Linked DNA regions of Homo sapiens: region 1 is linked to region 2. The links are contacts of gene promoters, found by promoter capture Hi-C in blood cells and fetal thymus (Javierre and others, 2016). All regions are on one chromosome and are shown on one strand. Each heading gives the region's core, a stretch centred on a gene start or on the middle of the fragment in contact. The rest is flanking DNA. Distances are from core to core; before and after follow the strand shown. Region 1 overlaps CD48 (CD48 molecule). Region 2 holds the start of DEDD (death effector domain containing).

Evidence for each region. The method cuts DNA at HindIII sites, captures the fragments that hold promoters and counts their contacts. A CHiCAGO score of 5 or more calls a contact.
Region 1: a fragment that was not itself captured here is called in contact with the fragment with the promoter of DEDD in region 2 in 7 of 17 cell types (megakaryocytes, erythroblasts, neutrophils and 4 more); the score reaches 9.1 in megakaryocytes.

Annotation. Positions count from the first base shown.
Region 1 is chr1:160,675,490-160,681,645 of GRCh38, reverse strand. It overlaps CD48 (CD48 molecule), which reads left to right. Exons shown (of 4, transcript NM_001778.4): 3 at 178-444; 4 at 2,515-2,900. The coding sequence ends at 2,594. Among named protein-coding and RNA genes, the nearest start is that of SLAMF1, 32 kb to the right of the region's middle. RefSeq lists an enhancer at 123-212. The HindIII fragment of the contact is 1,066 bases long and covers 966-2,031 here.
Region 2 is chr1:161,128,000-161,134,490 of GRCh38, reverse strand. DEDD (death effector domain containing) reads left to right here and starts at 1,824. Exons shown (of 6, transcript NM_032998.3): 1 at 1,824-1,940; 2 at 3,644-3,676. RefSeq lists enhancers at 1,360-1,669, 2,131-2,954 and silencers at 1,690-2,039, 2,090-2,309. The HindIII fragment of the contact is 8,185 bases long and covers 1-6,440 here.

The DNA of each region.
Region 1 (6,156 bases), core at 249-2,748, 450 kb after region 2:
GTGAGGCCTCAGGAGGTCAAGGCTGCTCACTGGCTCCCTCTGTAGAACTTCTTCTTCATGACTCTGCCTCCTGGGGCATTCAGGCCCCTTCCCTGGATCCCTTTGTTCTTTGTTGGCTAAACCTTCACAGCATGAATGCCTCACTGTCTCATCTTATAACATCCTCCTCACTTTCAGACCCTGTACCCAAGCCTGTCATCAAAATTGAGAAGATAGAAGACATGGATGACAACTGTTATCTGAAACTGTCATGTGTGATACCTGGCGAGTCTGTAAACTACACCTGGTATGGGGACAAAAGGCCCTTCCCAAAGGAGCTCCAGAACAGTGTGCTTGAAACCACCCTTATGCCACATAATTACTCCAGGTGTTATACTTGCCAAGTCAGCAATTCTGTGAGCAGCAAGAATGGCACGGTCTGCCTCAGTCCACCCTGTACCCTGGGTAAGAAGGATCCCTGGGAGCTGAGGGGGGCACAGGGTAACTGGAGTTGTTTTGAACAAAGAAAGGCTGGGGGTCCTATTCAGCCTCCTTGCACAGTGTGGTGGTGAATCCCTAAGGTGTCTGGGAGAGCTGGGAGACGTGGGTTCTGCCACCAGCTCTACCACCACCTCCCAGCCAGCTTACCTCAACTTCGTGGGGGCTCAGTGTTCTCACCTGCAAAGGACGTTTGGGAGAGATCTCTGATACTCCTCTTCCCTCTCCCGCTCTAACAAAGCATAGTCCTAACATCTGAGGCCAGGGTCATCATAGAGTAGACTGAAACATCAGGGTGAGCAGGGAGAAGGAAGGGCAAGTGGGCGAGCAGCTGTCTAGAGGGGCTTCATTAGACAGCCGAAGTCAGCCAAGGAAAGAGGGACCGAGGTCATTAGACCGCCAAAGTCAGCCAGGGAAAGAGGGACTGAGGAGACGGGCCTGAGAGAGGCCGTCGAGGAGGCGTGAGAGCCTGAGCCTCAGGCGAAGCTTCTCCTCCCCAGCCTGATGTTCCTAGATGAACTTAGGAAGCCAGATTCCCCTGTCTCCTGGGAGGATCCACTCATGAGTGTCACACCTGGCTCTAGATCAGGCCTACACTGGTGCTAGCATGGGACAGCTAAGGCCATGGGTTTTAGAGTCAGTCATACCTGGGGTCACTTCTAGGACTGTCACTTACTAGCTAAACAAGTTACTTAGCTTCCCCAAGTCATGTTCTTCCTAAATAAAGGACAAAATAACAGTTCCTATCTCGTGCTAAGGATTCAATGAGACAAGACACGTAACTGCCTATCACAGTGGCTGACAAGTCCTTAGTAAGCGGGAGCTAAATGAGACGCAGTCTCTTAGAGTTTTGGGGACCCTTAATAAACTTGGATCAATATCTCCAGCACTCTGGGAAATACCAGAGTCAGATACCCTCCACAATCCTGAAGTCAGATCCCTGAGCCCTAGCGTACACATTCTTCTAGAATAACTCAGACCTGAGGTGCTCACATTCACCTGTGACCCCTGTCATGCCCAGTCATCAGGGATTCTGGCCTCTGAGAACGTTGCTGTTTTGTGGTCTTCCTGGGCTCTGTCTACCCTCCTTAACTGCACTGATTTCTTTATCTCTACTCCCACATGTGGACTACGGAGACTGTGTATGCTCTTCCTTATTCTTCCTAACTAATTGGCCCTGTCTCTACCAGCCTCTCCTGATATGCCTTGCTCTTCTGCCACCACAGACCCACTGTGACAGTGTGGTATCTGACCATGAGAACACAATTTGGCTGGTGGTTCCAACACCACCCTCATATCAATATCACATCCTGAGATCCAGAAAAAGGAAGACGCACATTCCCTGTCCTCTATAAAATGGGTGTGACTGTTCATCCGAAGAGAGGATAAAAGCAATAATAAATCCATTTTTTTTGGAAGGGTAAACCCATCTGTCACTTTTTAGTCACCGAAATTATCCTAGAAAGCCCCCTCAAACTCCTTTCCCTACTGTATCACTCATTCCTTTTTTTTATTTTCTCCAGCTCAGCCCTTCCCCACCCCAGCATCTAAGCTTTCCTTCCATCCTTTTTCTTTTCCTTTCCTTTTCTGTCTTCCTTTCTCTTCCCTTCTTCTTCCTAGTTGGTGCAGATACTTAGTGGGGTAGAGAAACAAGGAAAGGAAGTGGTCCTTTTCTCTCTAAAGTCAGCTGTGCATTGTATCATGTGGTCATCTGTCTGTACCTGAAGATCTACCCTACCTCGTTGATGTCCAGAGTAGGGGAGCAATGCTTTCCCAGGCCACAGATATGTCGAGGTAACCTTTGAGCACAGGGCCCAGGTAAGCCAGTGATATTTAAGGAATTTCTGCATTTTTTATACTTTATGTTTGGGGAGATTGAGGAAAAGAATGTCCCAGCCAAATAGGATGGGATTCAGGGAAGAAATTAATTTCCCTGCTCTGTGAGCTCCCACACCAGTGTCCAGTACACTTGCCCCTTCTCAATACATTAGTCAAGATAAAGATACCTAAGCATATAGGGTTTTCTTGCTCTTTCAGCCCGGTCCTTTGGAGTAGAATGGATTGCAAGTTGGCTAGTGGTCACGGTGCCCACCATTCTTGGCCTGTTACTTACCTGAGATGAGCTCTTTTAACTCAAGCGAAACTTCAAGGCCAGAAGATCTTGCCTGTTGGTGATCATGCTCCTCACCAGGACAGAGACTGTATAGGCTGACCAGAAGCATGCTGCTGAATTATCAACGAGGATTTTCAAGTTAACTTTTAAATACTGGTTATTATTTAATTTTATATCCCTTTGTTGTTTTCTAGTACACAGAGATATAGAGATACACATGCTTTTTTCCCACCCAAAATTGTGACAACATTATGTGAATGTTTTATTATTTTTTAAAATAAACATTTGATATAATTGTCAATTAACTGAATTCCTGAAGTTGTCCCAAATCTGTCAGACAGTGCCTGCTCCATCAGCTGGGAGAAACTGGAATCTGGAGACACAGAGGGGAGAGCCTGGAGCCACCGGCTCCTGTGTGTCAACACAGCTGAGGAGCCAATTTGTGCTACTTCTGACCCTTATTCCAACATCCATGCTAAGCTTCCTGGGGCTCCAGCTCCCCTGCCAAGCCTTTGCCTCCTTCCCAGTGGCTTGCCTTGCTCTGACCCCTCTGAGGACCACTCTCCTTAAGTCTGCTGCAAACATAGGTTCAGGCTTGCTCTCGCAGAAGGAAGGATGCAGCTCTATCTCATAAGAAGCCTTCCTGCCCCACAAGCCTCGCATAGGGAGCTGAATTCTCTCTCCTCTTTTCCATTGACTGTGTGGGCAAGTCTTCAACTCCTAGTCGTTTCACTGGATCCAAAAAAACCATCAGATCGACACAGTGTTCTCACCAGAGTTGTCCACTATATGCAGGTAGGCGCCCCCAGGCCCACCACTGACATAACACCTGGGATTTTTGCTTAATGTCCCCTCCTCTAAGTCTCCTCATGTGCCTGGAGCTGAAAGGGTCACTACAGAATGCACTTCCCCTTCAGAAAACTGCCCACCACAGACTGCTTGCCTTTCAAACCAGACCAGCCTCCCCCATCTCCCTCGTGGCCCTTCCCTCCTCACCCCATCTCCTCGGTGACAGATACAGTGCTATGTGTTTGCCAAACCTTCTCATTTTCCCCTGGGTGAGTGAAAAAACTCTTTTTCCCAGCTACTTTTGTGTTTAGCTGGAGCCATGTGATGAAATCTGTCCAATAGAAAGTGGGCGGCATGGATGTGGCAGGAGTGAAGGACTTCGGAAGTCTGGCTATATGATGCAAGGAACTGCATCGGAGCCATTGTTTGGAAGGCAGCTGCCTGCCCTACATTGCACAAGCATGATAAGAAAGGTAGGGTTTTGTCTTTTCCACAAGACAGCCTGGGCTTCCGAAGAAACCCCCCACCCTGAGCCCAGCCTGTAGTCCCATCCAAAATCACCTCTGAGCAGCCTGCATCCCCATCCAAACTCACTTCTGAGCAGTCTGCATCCCATCCGAACTCACCCCTGAGCAGCCTGCATCCCTATCCAAACTCACCTCTGAGCAGCCTGCATCCCCATCTGAACTCACCTCTGAGCAGCCTGCATCCCCATCTGAACTCACCCCTAAGCAGCCTGCATCCCCATCCGAACTCACCTCTGAGCAGCCTGCATCCCCATCTGAACTCACCCCTAAGCAGCCTGCATCCCCATCCAAACTCACCCCCGAGCAGCCTGCATCCCATCCAAACTCACCTCTGAGCAGCCTGCATCCCCATCTGAACTCATCTCTGAGCAGCCTGCAGTTCCATCCAAACTCACCTCTGAGTATCCTGCATCCTACAGGTGGACCATTTCCATCCCCTTTCTGTAAGCAGCACCCTTTTCCTTCCCCTCACTTTTCTCAGTGGAAGAAGAGGGTTTTGGGGGGAATTTCACGCGCACACACACACACACACACACACACACATATACACACACGCGCGAGCGCGAATGGGATAAACAAGCAGTAAGAAGGAAACAAATGCCACTTTCTGTCACAAATAAGCACATTCCTCAGCTGCTGAGGAACCAGCGTGCCTCTGCGGACATTGTATTTGTATTATTTCCAGTTACTGGAAACCTGAGGTAAATCTCACCTTAGACGGCTCAGGTCACAGACACCAACGGTTCCCTGCTCCTCCCATCCCTCAAGGCAGTGCCAGATACATAATTTGTGGGGCTCAGTGCAAAATGAAAATGTTGGCTCCCCTTGCTCAAAAAGCAAGGAAAATGTGCCAATAAAAGTACTGAAATATTAAGCCTTTTCTTTTCTTCCACAGTCTCTCTACTTGAGATGGTATTTTTTTATTTGCTTGCTATTTAATGCTGTTCTAAGTAAAGGCAAATTAAAAACTTAAATTATCATGAATTTTACTTTCTATATTTTAAAACATTAGTTTTAAATGAAAATAGAATATTTAATTCATATTTGGGATCATTGCAATTACTCAATTTCTATTTCGTGGCTCATGCATGCATATATATTTTGTTCTTATTGGAAGTGTGAAAACGCTGCGAAAACCCAACTTAACTTTTTTATTTTACTTCTTGTTGCATACACATTCTCCCAACACTCTGTGAAAGCCAGTGGCTCCCATAACGTGACCACTTTGCACTTACTTTGAGTTTCACTGAACTCCCACATATTTTGGGTAGGTCCGCTGGAGTGCTGTGCTCATGGGATATGAAAAAGGGTAACAAGGAATGGTGGCAGACATGCAGATTACATGTATCTTCCCTTCTCACCTGCATGCTTAAGCAGAAGCTGAAAGAGAAAATTATCAAGAATTTCCAGATAGTGTCAGCAGCAGCAGAGCACTAACCCAGGTTCAAGGCCCTTCTGACCTGGGGCCCCGTGTCACTGTACAGGTCACAAGCCCGTGAAGCCAAATTTACCTCAAGGACAACTAATATCTTACACCAAGACAACGGCCTTCTCTGGAAGTCACAAGGCCTGGTTCTTATGTTCCCCAGCCCCTCATATCTGTCTATGCATCAAAAGTTAGTAGAAGCTGGGCGCAATGGCATACACTGTAGTCCCAGCTACTCCCAGGGCTGAGGTAGGAAGATCACTTGAGGCCAGGAGGTGGAGGTTGCAGTGTGCTGTGATCATACCTGGGAAAAGCCACTGCCAGTCCTGCCTGGGAAACAAAGCAAGACCCTGTATCCTCAAAAAAAAAATAAATAAATAAAGGTTAGTGTGTTCCCTTATCAGTATACACAAGCCCATTTGTCTTTGTGCAAAGAGGATACTCCAGAATTAGCCTCAATTTCCAGTCATGAGTATACTCTTGTGAACTGAGGTGTCAGGATAAGTTGCTTCCCCTTGGCCTTCAGGCGGCTCAGGCAAGCTCCTGCACTGCCCTCTGCTGGCTCCAGCGCAGCAAGTTTAAGTAAAACTTAAAGCCTTGGATTAGGTCAGTGCTTCTCAAACTCTAACTTGCCAGCAAATCACCTGGGGATCTTGTGAAAATGCAGACTTTGAATCAGTAGGTCTGGGGTGGGAACCAGCTTGTCTCAACAGCCAGCATGAGGTTACACATGGAAGGTTGGCAAGGCCAGGAGCTCCTGTGGACTAAGAGAAAGTAACCCTCATATCTGGCTTTGCACAAATAAGCAGCTTGGATTGGGCCCT
Region 2 (6,491 bases), core at 575-3,074:
GTGCAGTGGCACGACCTCAGCTCACTGCAACCTCTGCCTCCTGGGTTCAAGCGATTCTTGTGCCTCAGCCTCCCCAGTAGCTGGGACTACAGGCGCGCACTGCCATGCCTGGCTGATTTTTGTATTTTTAGTAGAGACGGGGTTTCACCATGTTGACCAGGCTGGTCTCCAGCTCCTGACATCAGGTGATCTGCCCGCCATGGCCTCCCAAAGTGCTGGGATTACAGGAGTGAGCCACAGCACCCGGCCTATTTATTTCATTTTTTTTGAGACAGGGTCTTGCTCTGGTGCCCAGGCTGAAATGCAGTGGCGCGATCTCGGCTCACTGCAACCTCTGCCTCCTGGGTTCAAGCAATTCTCATGCTTCAGCCTCCCAAGTAGCTGGGATTACCGGCATGTGCAACCACACCCATCTAATTTTTTTTGTATTTTTAGAAGAGACAGGGTTTCACCATGTTGGTCAGGCTGGTCTCGAACTCCTGGCCTCAAGTGATCCACCCGCCTCGGCCTCCCAAAGCTAGGATTACAGGTGTGAGTCACCATGCCCGGCCCTGATGTATATATTTTAGTTAGCATTTTACTATATCTCTGTTACACTAAACGCTTTCACCAGTTTCCTTGATAGTTCTCTATGGTTTTCTTCTTTCCTTTCGGTTTGCCCCTTCTCAGTGTTCTTTTCGGCTTCCCTCATCCTATCCCGCAAATGCAGGTATCCTCTCCAGCCCACTTCATGGCTTCAACAGCTATCTATATGCACACGCACACACACCTCAAACCTTTCTTTTGAGTTCCCAACCCACATTAGCTAATATCCCAGGGGCACCTAAAACTCATTATCTCCCCCCTAAACGAGAAAGAAACTGGTATCATTATTCCCCAGTTGTCCAAGTCACAACATTCGTACCTCTTAAACCAATCTGTATCTCCCCATCCGCACTCTCCCTTCCACAGGCAGACCATCATCATCCTTGCCTGGAAAAGAGCCTCACAACTGCTCTCCTTGATTCTCCTCAATTCATTCATCCTTCACACTGCACGCAGCGATCTAAAATGCAAATGAAATTGTTCACACCTCTGCTGAGATTCTTCAAAGACTTTTCATTGCCTTAAGGATAAAAATCAATTAATTTACAAGGCTTCGCATAATCTGGTCTTCCCCTATCTATTACCACTTTCTTAAGCCACACCAGAACGTACCCGCACCATCCTCCCCACCCCCAATTCCCAACAGCCCTACACGGATCAGCTAGGCGACACTTCCTACAGGAAACCGGCGTTCAAAAGGTAAATGCTGAACAAATGAATTCCGAGACGGGATCTGGGCACCACTTTCGGCTCCGGATCCGGGTTTACGGAACGTCCGGGTTATCAGGAAGCTCAGAGGAAAGGTGAAATCCAGATCTTGACCCTTCACTCAAGTTCGCCAGACAAACCGATCCCCGTGGTATTCCGCCCTTATGAGTCATGGCTGCCAATCCCAGCCTTCCAGTGGGTCTTGAAGTCGCCACCAGCCAGCTGTGGCGCCACCAATGTTTCCCATTCAAGAATGCTATCCTCTTCGATCCCTTATTACCGCCCTAAGCAGCCGTCAAGACAAACCGGCGTTGCCAGCTTGCCCCAAAGCAAGATGGCTGCCAATCTCTATCTCTCCTCCCGAAGTGAAGCTATCCACTCCCCGATTAATGCCGCTGCCAGGCTGCCCTCACTTACTATGGCTACTCCGGCTCATGTCTCACTATGGCCTCGAAGCCGCCACTAACCGGCCGGGTTCCGGGAGGCGCCGTTCAGGATGCAGCCACCCCCGCCCGCCTGTCCCCTCCCCCACGGCCGCGGCGGCGGCGGCGGCGGCGGCTGCTGGAGCCCGGATGCGGCGCCGTGAGGCAGGCCCGGGAGAGCGGCGCGGATGGATCCAACATGGCGGCGCCGAGCCTGAGCCGAGAGTGAGGCGGAGGGGCGGCCGGAGTGGGGAGAGGGAGTCGAGCGGGACGGGGCGGGGCCGGGCGGGGCCGCAAAGGGCTTGGGGAAGGAAAGTGGAGGGGGAGGCGGTGGCGACGTCCAGCCTGAGAACCTCAAGAGAGGGAGGTGACGGGACGCTGAGAGGTGGGGGAGGGGAGCTGCCGAGGGGGGCGTGCAGGGGAGATGGCAACTGCGGGAGAGGGCAGGGGTCGAGACGGAGGAGTGAGGGCATGGGGAGGGGCGTAAACAAGGGCTGAGACTGGGCCCAGCCAGGGGTATTAGAGAGGCCGAGGTGGGGAGTGGGGCTGCGATCCGCTCGTATTGAAGGGGGTAGGAGCAGGAGGGAGAGGCTGAGGGTGTGAAGGGGAAGGGGGCTGTGGCATGTGGTTGGAGGGAGGACTGGACTCTGATGAGGGGTGTTGCGAGGAGGTGGGTAAAGGTCAGAATTGGAGTTAAGACGTTTCTGGGGGGCTTCGAAAGTGTTAAATTGGAGGTGGGAGGGGGAAGGGCCTAGGGGAGAATTTGGGTGGAAAAGGAGAGAACGGAGGCTTGGGGAATGGAGAGAGTGTCGGTGGGAGGAGGTAATGGAGAAAGTGAGAGACTGGGAGGAAGAAAGTTTGGGAGGAAGGGGAGTGGAATGGGAGATAGGACAGTGGAGCTGCACGGGTGATAGAGGTTCGGGGGTTTCCCTTTCCCCGGTGGAGAGGAGGAGAGAACAGAGTTAAGCAGCATCAGTTGCAGCCAATTCTAATTGCCAGGCCCTTAGCTTTTAAGAGGGTGGGAAGGGCAGAAGGGAATGGTCATGTGGGTTTGCAGAATTGGGGTTGGATGAGAATTCAACTGGGTTTGTTTTCCAAAAGACTCCCTAGCTTACTGTTCCCTTGTTTTTCCTGCTTGGGAAAATGGGGAAGCCGGTGTCGCCCAAGTGTGGAGGAGCAAAGGACTTTTCTAGTTTTTAGCATTAGCAATACAAGAGTGGGGGAGCAGACATGGCTATATTGGAACCCTATATGCTAAGGTGGAGGCTCTGGAAGTCTGAGGAGGGAAAGAGAAAAGATAGAGTGGCATCTAGACAGGTTAATTAAATGAGTGCTGTAGTTTCCAGACCCTTTTGCTGTTTTAAGTCTGGAAGGGAGGGGGTAACATGGATACTGTATGTAGAAAAACTTTTCCCTGGTGAAACATAGACGTATGAGTGGATGCTGCGCCATTAGATATTTTGTTCTCATTGTGTGCTAGTTAAGGGAAAGGGCCAAATGTAGAATTTGGAGGATAGTGCTGGTCTGCTGTAACCACTTTCCTCCCAGTTTTTTCTAAAGGTGAAAGTTAACGTTAATATTGTAACAAAATAGGAATAAGGAATTGTGGAGGAAGATGAGAAGCTGCCAGAGGGTAATTGGTTTTCCCAGAAGTTCTTAAATTTGGGAGCTGTCTTGCCGCAAGCCATTGAGACTGGAAATTCTTGGAGTTGGTATTGTTTTTGTAAATTGACTAATAGAGAGTTAGGGAAGCCTGGAGACTTGTTGGGGGTGAGTTCTCTAAATGGTTTTAGGCTTGTCTGTGTACTTTTGCAACGAGATTGTCTAATTCTATGGGCCTCTGAGGTTTCAAAGTAAAACTTGAAAATTAATTATTTTCCCCTCCTTATTTGTTTTTGTTTTGCTGCTGGCTGTGAAACTTGTGCTAGGAAGAGACCTGGGAAATTAAGTTTCTTGCGGAGGTAAGTCTGGAACTTTTTTATTGTTTTCAAACAATGGAAGGGAATGGAAATAGCATGGGAGTTATTTTGAGGTTGGGTCCATTAATGAGGAGGAGAATGCCAGGGAAAATGAGTTATCATTCATCCATCTGAGTGCATGAGATCTGTTGTAATCACTGTCTTTAGTTAATTGGAGATAGGAGGTGAAAGAGAAGGAGATTTAGATGTCTTGGGACAATCCCCCAGCTTTGGTTTGTTATTGTCTAGTCTTCTTGGTCAGCTCTGAAACATTTTTTTTTTTTAACATATGGAAGGCTGTATTCTAGTACATTGTCTACTAAATGTTGCCCTTGGAGGGTTGCTGGGACACCTTCCTTCCGTGGGAAACTTTTCCTCTAACTTTCTCTTTCAGCTGTTGGGGGGTTCCTGGCATCCTTCTTTTGAAAACATACTATGTAATTCTGACTTCCAGATATTTGATTACATTTCCTATCCCACCAGCAAGAATGTACTCTTAACCATCTTTAAGATTTTCTATGTAGTTTTAATTTAAGTTTCAAGATACCACTTTTTTTTGTAGTTCTTCTGCATGACTTTTCCTCTGAGGACTTCTGAGAGAGTCAGATATCTCTTAATTCTATGAAATTACAAATATCATCCCTGTTCAGAAAAGATGACTGTCATTTTCATTTCAAGACAGCACTCTTTTTTATTTCTTTCATGTCGCTTTCCCCTAAGGGCTTCTGAGAGAGCCAAGTACCTCAAAAACTACAGATATTCCTGGTTGGGATGAGACCAGACTTTGCTTGGAAGTAGAAACATAGTAGAGAAGGACCAATCAGGAGGAAATCCTGAAGATACCTATAGACTGTTGGCCCTTGGCTGACTTGGACTTCTCTAAAGAAAAAAGCAAAACTCCAGGAAATACAACAATTCCTCAGAATCAATTATTCTTGGGAAACTGTAGGGGAGAATTCATGTGTTACTATCTCAAATACAGCCAGACCAGTCAGTGGGATCAGGACTTTCTGTGTGCTGGAGTTTCGTCTCTTGGTATTTGGCAGTGTTTCAGATACCAAGACTTGAGTTAGTTCTAATTTTCTGTTCAGAGGGTTACATTCTCCTCACCATTCTGATACCTGTCATCTAGAATCTCTGTATGTTTTAAGTTGAGCTCCCTTGCTTCACTGTCACAGAAATACGAGTATATTTTGGTTTTAGAGGAAATTGGTCATGTTTTCTTTTCTAATTTTACTAATCAGCTGAACTTTCATCACTTTTTTTTTTTTTTTTTTTGAGGCAAGGTCTCACTCTGTACCCCAGGCTGGAGTGCAGTGGTGCGATCAGAGTAGCTGGGACCACAGGTATGTCCCACTATGCCCAGCTAATTTTTGTTTATTGTTTGTAGAGATGGAGTTGTGTCATGTTGCTCAGGCTGGTCTCGAACTCCTGGGCTCAAGCAGTCCTCCTGCCTTGGTCTCCCAAAGTGTTGAGATTACAAGTGTGAGCCACCATGCGAGGCCTCATCACATTCTTTTAATGTTAAAGTTAGATAGATTCTTGGAACCCTTATCTGGGTTGCATTAAGTGGAGAGGGCTGCCTCTTAACCTGCATGACAGTATCCTCATATTTCTCCCAAGCACATGGCCTTGAGGAACTTACATATTTCTATGTTTGCTTCATTGAATAAGCAATATAAGTCTGATTAGTGACCTCACAAGGAGAATTTGCTGCTCATCCAGTTCCAAGACTTTAAAGATGACCCTGAGGCTTACGAGCAGGATCCTTTGTGTCTGTCTTGCAGAGGATTACATTTCTAATATCCCCATAGAACTCCAGATTGAACTAGGTCAAAGTAGACCTCCTGGGATGGGGCAGAAGTGGATGTAGAACTACCACCTGTTCCTCAGCTGAATGGCAACAGCAGGTGACAGAGGACCCAAGGTTGGAGTGGCATGAAACACCTTAGTGCAGTTGGACTTGGGAGTTAAATGAACATGTATGTCCGACAGGCTTTTCTTTTCTTCTGGAATGTTGTTTGATGGGTTTGGATGGAGGGACCAGATGGCTTTTTCTAGATCTAGTGTGGAAAGTGACATGCATTCTTTTGACCCTTTACCATGCTCCACCTAGAATAGGGTTTCTCATCCTTGGCATTATTGACATTTTGTGCTGCATGATTCTTTGTTGTGGCAGACTGTTCTGTGCATTACAGGATGTTTCTTTTTTCTTTTGAGACAGGGTTTCACTCTGTCACCTGGGCTGGACTGCAGTGGCGCTATCACATCCCACTGCAGCTTCGACCTCCCAGGCTCAAGCGATTCTTCTACCTTAGCCTCCCAAGTAGCTGGGATCACAGGTGCATGCCACCACGCCAGGCTAATTTTTATATTTTGCATAGAGATGGGGTTTCACCATGTTGTCCAAGCTGATCTCAAACTCCTGGGCTCAAGTGTTCCTCCCACCTTGGCCTCTCAAAGTGCAGGGATTACAGACGGGAGCCACTGCACCTGTCCTATAGGATGTTTCTAAATATCCCTGGCTTCTACTCATTACATGCTGATGGCAGTCCCCTTCCCCACCAGGCATAATAATCAGAAATGTCTCCAGACATTGCCACATATTCCCCAGGGGTCAAATTTGCCCCTGGTTCAGAACCACTGACCTAAAAGCTATTATAATTCCTAGTACATTGATGATCTAGCCTGGGATCTAGGACTTAAAGGTGGCTAGTGTGTTTGTTTCCTCTCAAATGTAGGGAGTTAACTTCAAAGGATTGAAGCTTATAGAATTACATCCATTGATACATAATTAGGACCACAGTGCTTTCCTGTA